2 separate regions of the Homo sapiens genome follow, and region 2 is linked to region 1. The links are contacts of gene promoters, found by promoter capture Hi-C in human tissues and cell types (Jung and others, 2019). All regions are on one chromosome and are shown on one strand. Each heading gives the region's core, a stretch centred on a gene start or on the middle of the fragment in contact. The rest is flanking DNA. Distances are from core to core; before and after follow the strand shown.

Region 1 (3,003 bases), core at 63-2,562:
TGTATCATCCCTATAAACAGATAGCATTGGCTTCTTCATATATACAGTACTTATGCTCACCCAAGATCTGTAGACAGATCTACTCTGTGTTAAAAAACAAAACCAAACAAAAACCTTGATACCCTGCTGGAGGATAAATCCATATTTTTTAAAAAATGTATTTATTTTCTACGTAAAATAAGGGTCAGAGGGCAACACAGAAGATTTCCACAAGTAGACTATTTTGTTGAAGCTATGCAGGAGGTGAGGAGGGGAACAGGAAATTGTCTGCAAAGGAGTCTCTGTGAGGAAGATTTATTTCTTTCTTGTTTTCTTTTAAGCTACTATGACTCCTCTATTAAGGGTCTCCGTAAGACCGGGGTCTCAGGGAGACAATTTGGTCTCCAGCCCTGGCACATCCAGCCCCGGCCAGGCATTTCTGCCGCAGGCAGATGAGGCGCTGCGGCCGGACCGCTGTCCCCGGTGCTGAAAGGTCGAGGGCGCCCGCGCGAGCCCTCGGTGTTGCTATCCAGGGTGCTGAGCGCGGGCCGCCGCAGTCCCCGAAGCCAGCCCACCCGCGCCAGCCCTCCGCAGAGCCCTCCCACCCGGCACGACCCGCCCGCCTCCCGCCAGCCTGCAGTTGACGTGGAGCAGGCGGCATAAATCAAGTCCGCGGGGCATGGAGGCTGCTGTCGCTGCAGCAGCTCAGCTTGCCCGGGGCGGGAACTCCCCCTTTCTCCTTTCGCCTCCCCAGCACCCACACCCTGTCTCCCCCTTAATTCTTCCCTGGATAATAGCACCCTAACGACAACAGTCATAATAATAGGGTTAGAACGACAGGGGAGGAAAACTCAACAGCCTAAATATCTCTGAAAACTGCATCGCAAAATGGAAGAAAGAGGGGGTCCCACTACTGTTTCAAAAGAGTAAGTTATTATTCGGTACGTACCCTCGCTCTTCCTCCCCGTCGCTCCATTTGCAGGGCTCCCGTTTCCCTTTTCCCCAGCAGCTCACCTCGAAAACACTTTATAAAGCCCCCACCAGACGTGCACACACGGAATACCGCACCCTAAGTGCACCAATACTTGTATTTACCCAAGCCCACTCGGACTGCCCAGCTGCTGTCCCTTCTGGGTATGCAGCCATCCCGAGCCAGAGCCACGACCTGGGGAGGGGGGTTCTTACCTGGGCTTCTCGGGAGGGTTGTGTTCTCCGGGCCTCTGCAGGTTGCAACTGTGGTGGAGCCGCCGAGCAGGGAGGGAAGGAAAGACAGCGCCTGACCTCCCCGAGGTTTCGTCTTCAATGCAACGTGAGCTCTGCCCTCATCAAAGATGGCCGTCCGTTTTGACGTCAGCAGCTTTTAATAGCCGCCCAGCGAGGGGCGGGAGGAAGTGGGGGCGGGGCACGGCGGGGGCGGGGGCGGGGCCCGGGCTGCGGCGCGCTTGACTCGGTTCCCAGTGCGCTGGCCTGCAAACCTGCGTGTTTTCACCTTCTATAAACACCCGCACGGGGCGACTCTTATGACTCCATTTTAACACTCGGTCTTGGGCAAACGCGTTCATCCCGCAACTGCATTCCTGATGTTCTTTGGTGTGTGTGCGTGTGTGTGTACATATGTGTATATGTGTGTGTATGTATATATGTATGTGTGTGTATATTTTATAATACATGTATAATATATGTATAATTTGTGTGTATGTGTATATATTCCCCCCCACCCCCACCCCCACCCCCTTTCAGTGGAATCTGTGGTTGAGTCATCTAAGGAGAGGGGAAGGCAGAGGAGGGGTAAAAGGTAGTGATGGGAGGGGTGGGGGAAATTTCAGCGGCGATTTGTTTTCTCCGAAGAGGGTCCGTAGGGGCATCCCCGTCCACCCTCGCCAGCTCCATATATGGCCAGGCTACGTGGGTTGCTATTTTTATGAGTGATTGCTTCATGTTATCGAAGCAGCGTCGAGGGCTTGTGGCTCTCGTTGCTGTGGTCAGCCGGGCAGCGAGGCTGGCGCACGTTATTTTGAACTACGTCAGAGCCAGGCTCTCTGAGCTGTTGCAGGAGTCGGGGGAAGGAGAAGGGAAGCGGAGTTAGCCCAGCCAGCGTGGGTTTGCAAGGACTCGAGGCTTGAAGTTGAGTTGTTTGCCGAGGGCAAAAACGGATGACTCTGCTTTCGGTGGAATTTGCAGTCGGTGCTGGGGTTTCATGCTGGGTGTCTTAGGGGTACCCCACGGAGGCACAGACGCCCCGAGGGAACCGTCCAAACGGCCGGGAGGAGGTGGGGGATTCAGAGCAAGGACGGCTGGGACACGGCCGAATCTGGGGGTTCACTCAGTGCGCAAACCCCGGGGTACCCGTGCAGGCTGCCTCGGGGGGCCCTCGGATGCTCAAATCAGGGCGGGGAGACAAAGGCTACTTGTGCTGGTCGTATTAGAGATTAAAAGTGATAATTATAAAGCAACAACCCTAACTGTCCTCCCTGGCCGTGCCCGGGCCCGGGAAGGGGGTGGTGCGCGGATCGCTCGGCGGTGGCAGCCTCCCGGATGATTCACAGGTGTTGGGGAGGCTGTCGCGGGGCTCTCCGCAGGGAGGGAGGGCTGGGGAGCGCGTGGGAGGTGGGGGACCTCGTCTGAGGAACTGTTTGTACTTTTCCGGGAAGGATGCGATTAGAAGTCGTGCCTCGCAATGTTAAAACTTGATGGCCTCTTTTAGGCTATGGAAAATCCTTGTCTCGCTTAGGAGAAACCATTTAGAGCTGGGTTCGGAAAAGCGGCGTACAACCTCTCCCCTTGCACCCTCGCCCCCCACCCCCGCCCCACCACACACACACACACACACACACACACACACACACACACATCCCTAGCTGGCCTGAGAGCCAAGCTTAGGCAATAATACGGCCTTTGATTGCGCTCCATTGCGGAGGGAGGGAAGCGGGGTAGGGGGAAGGGAAGAAGAGTTGTGAAGGCGCTGCGTTTAGAAAGAGACGGGTTGTTAAGAATTTAATAAAGGATACCTTTAATCGAAATTAG
Region 2 (3,074 bases), core at 421-2,920, 1.1 Mb before region 1:
TAAGCAGTGGAGTGAATGGCCTGCTATCATTAAAGCAGCTTGCCTTCAAAATAAAATAAAATAAAGTAAAATAAAATAAAATAAAATAAAACAAAGTAAAATAAAGTAAAATAAAGTAAAATAAAATAAAATAAAATAAAATAAAATAAAATAAAATAAAATAAAATAAAATAAAATAAAATAGAGTAGGAGGTCCCAGTAACCCATATGGAAACTACAGAGTGGGGACAAACAAGCCTCTGAGCTGAGCACAGGGCATTACTGGGTCTCAGCTGAGCATAGGGCATTATGGGTTAAGTCGTTCCAGTCTCCACACACAGTGTCTGGAATTGTGGATCTGTGAAAGCTTTTAACAACTGGTCCCGGGACAAAACTAAACCAATGAGCTAATAAAAAGGAAACGAAGTAGTGGAGGGTAGTGGGAGGGGTGATAATTTTTCAAGAAAACCTCCAAATTAGTATTTTGCAAATGTAGTTAAAGTGGAAGAAACCTTTTTTTGAGTCAAAATTCATAAATTAAATTCCAAGACTCTGCTTGAGGGGACTCTGGGGCAGCCCCAAACTTCTTCCACCCACCCCCTACTCCCTGCAGCACCTGAAGCATGCCCCAGATCCCTGAGGCTCTGCAGACCCCAGCTCAAATCTCCATTCAGTAGAAAATCAATGTCAAAGAGCTTTTCCCAGGTCTTTCAGATAGTAGAATTATATGTGAAAAAGTCACCTGGCAATGTTAGTTTACGTTCAAAACCTCAAAGGAAAGACATTGAGAAACCAATACAAATGAGAAAAAAAAAAAAAAACAACCTTAATTCAAACAAAAACAGCAAGCCCTGAAATCTAAATTCTAAGGCAGAGTGTAAATGAATGTCTAAATGCAACAGAAACATAGTTTTTATTATAAATGTCCACATGAATTGCCAGCTTTAAATAAACCATATATATATGTATACAAATTTGTATAAGGAGAATAATCAACTAATAATTTACTTTGTGACAATGTGGGATTTTTATAAATGTGTTGGTTATTTCTTTGTACAACTCGACTAAAGAATTTACTGAGAATTCTTTACATGCAGGCTCCCTTGCTATATCAGCAATTACTAAATTTCCAAGCATTGAATCCACAATCAATAATTCAGAAAAACTCAGAATGCCTTCATCAGGGCTAAGCCATGCTATATAGCTAGTATTTTAAAGATACAACTTTAAGCCTAATTTGTTTAAAAGAGTTTATTGCTTATAGACTTAATTTTTCCATGGGGGAAAAGAAAGAGAGCCCTGAATATAGAAATGACAATCATTAAAAAAGAAAAAAGAAAGAAGAAAAGAAAGATGAGAGAAAGAGAAAAAAGAAAAAAAGAGAGAGAGAAAGAAAGAGAGAGAGAGAAAGACAGACAAAGGAGAGAGGAAAGGAGGGAGGGAGAGAGAGAAGATGGAAAGAAGGAAGGGAGCGAGGAAGAAAAGAAACAAGAAAGGAAGGAAGAAGAAAAGAAAAGAAAGAGAGAAGAAAGAAAAAGAAAGAGAGCGACAGAAAGAGAGAGAGAGAGAAAGACAGACAAAGGAGGGAGAAAGGGAGGGACAAAGAGAAGAAGGAAGGAAAGAAAGAAGGAACCAAGGAAGAAAGGAAAGAAGAAAGGAAGGAAGGAGAAAAAAGAAAAAAGAAGGAAGGAAGGAAGAAAGGAAGCAAGAAAGAAAGAAAGGAAGGGAGGGAAAGAAAGGAGGGAGGGAGGGAGAGAAGGGAGGAAGGAAGGAAGCAAGGAGGAGGGGAGGGAGGGAAGAGAAGAGGGAGGGAGGTAAGGAAGGGAGAGAGGGAGGGAAGTAAGGAAGGGAGGGAGGGAGGGAGAAAAAAAGGAAACCAGTTTTTGTTGTTGTTTTTGAGGTGGAGTCTCGCTCTGTCACCCAGGCTAGAGTGCAGTGGCGTGATCTTGGCTCACTGCAACCTCTGTGTCCCGGGTTCAAGCGATTCTCCTGCCTCAGCCTCACGAGTAGCTGAGAGTACAGGTGCCCGCCACCACACCTGGCTGATTTTTGTATTTTTAGTAGAGACAGGGTTTCACCACGTTGGCCAGGCTGGTCTTGATCTCTTGACCTCAGGTTATCCACCCACATCATTCTCCCAAAGTGCTGGGATTACAGGCATGAGACACTGAGCCCGGCCAAAACCAGTTATTTTTTTCAGCCACTTTGCAACCCATTTTGAGAATATACTGGCAATTACACTGTTTTTAATAATGTTGTAGCCACACATGGATAAACTGGTTCATGGTTTACTTACAGTCCGAGTCCCAGGCAACTGTGGATACCTTTACAAAGTTTAAACCCTCTCCATATCCCAAGTGGTATTTTTACTTTTGCACTGGAGCATATAAGAAAAGGTAGGATATGGCAGAATTGCATAAGAATCACCTGGGCGTTTGCTCAAAATTCCGACTCCAAGGCCTCACTGAAGATCACCAGAATCTGAGAGACCTCCAGGTGTAGGCTGCACTATCACTGCCTCCTGAAAGGTCCTGTGGGGTGAGGATGGTGATTAAAAACTGGAGTCCTCAGCGGGACAGCACTAACCTGCCTCCAGTGTAGCTAGTTAACATCTGTAGATTTCACTTTCTTCTAACTCTACGAAGACAAGACCCCAAGTTCCTGTTATACAGAGAAAGTTGTGATTTTGTATATATTTTATTCATTTTGCTTAAAATCCTAAAATCTGACAAAAGGAAACAGGAAATATTTTATTATGGCCTACTCCAATTAATCTAAAGTGGGTTTCAGCTTGATTAAGATAACTTGGAGAGTTGGTTAAATCTTTGTCTTGCCTGAGTAACTTGCATATGTATATTTTCTAAACTTTTGGACATGAATTTCAAGTAGCAAATTCTATTCATCTTAATGGATTCTTTTCTTGGAAGATGTCAGTGGTTCTTCAGAACATTCCACACGAACTCTGTGTCCAAATCATTAACAGCAGTTTTTACTATGGGCACATAAGACAGAAATAAATCTGTTTTAATTACCTGTTTGGATTCTGATACCACGGCTGTTTGCCAAACCTTACTGATACTTCTTGTATTACCTCT

The links. The method cuts DNA at HindIII sites, captures the fragments that hold promoters and counts their contacts. A contact is called where the count stands out against the background at its distance.
Region 2: a fragment that was not itself captured here is called in contact with the fragment with the promoter of SNAP25 in region 1 in 1 of the 25 tissues and cell types used here (dorsolateral prefrontal cortex).

What each region holds. Positions count from the first base shown.
Region 1 is chr20:10,217,139-10,220,141 of GRCh38, reverse strand. SNAP25 (synaptosome associated protein 25) reads right to left here and starts at 1,312. Exons shown (of 8, transcript NM_130811.4): 1 at 1,165-1,312. SNAP25-AS1 (SNAP25 antisense RNA 1) reads left to right here and starts at 636. Exons shown (of 5, transcript NR_040710.1): 1 at 636-905. The HindIII fragment of the contact is 5,357 bases long and covers 1-3,003 here.
Region 2 is chr20:11,274,419-11,277,492 of GRCh38, reverse strand. No RefSeq gene overlaps it. Among named protein-coding and RNA genes, the nearest start is that of LINC02871, 250 kb to the right of the region's middle. The HindIII fragment of the contact is 6,189 bases long and covers 1-3,074 here.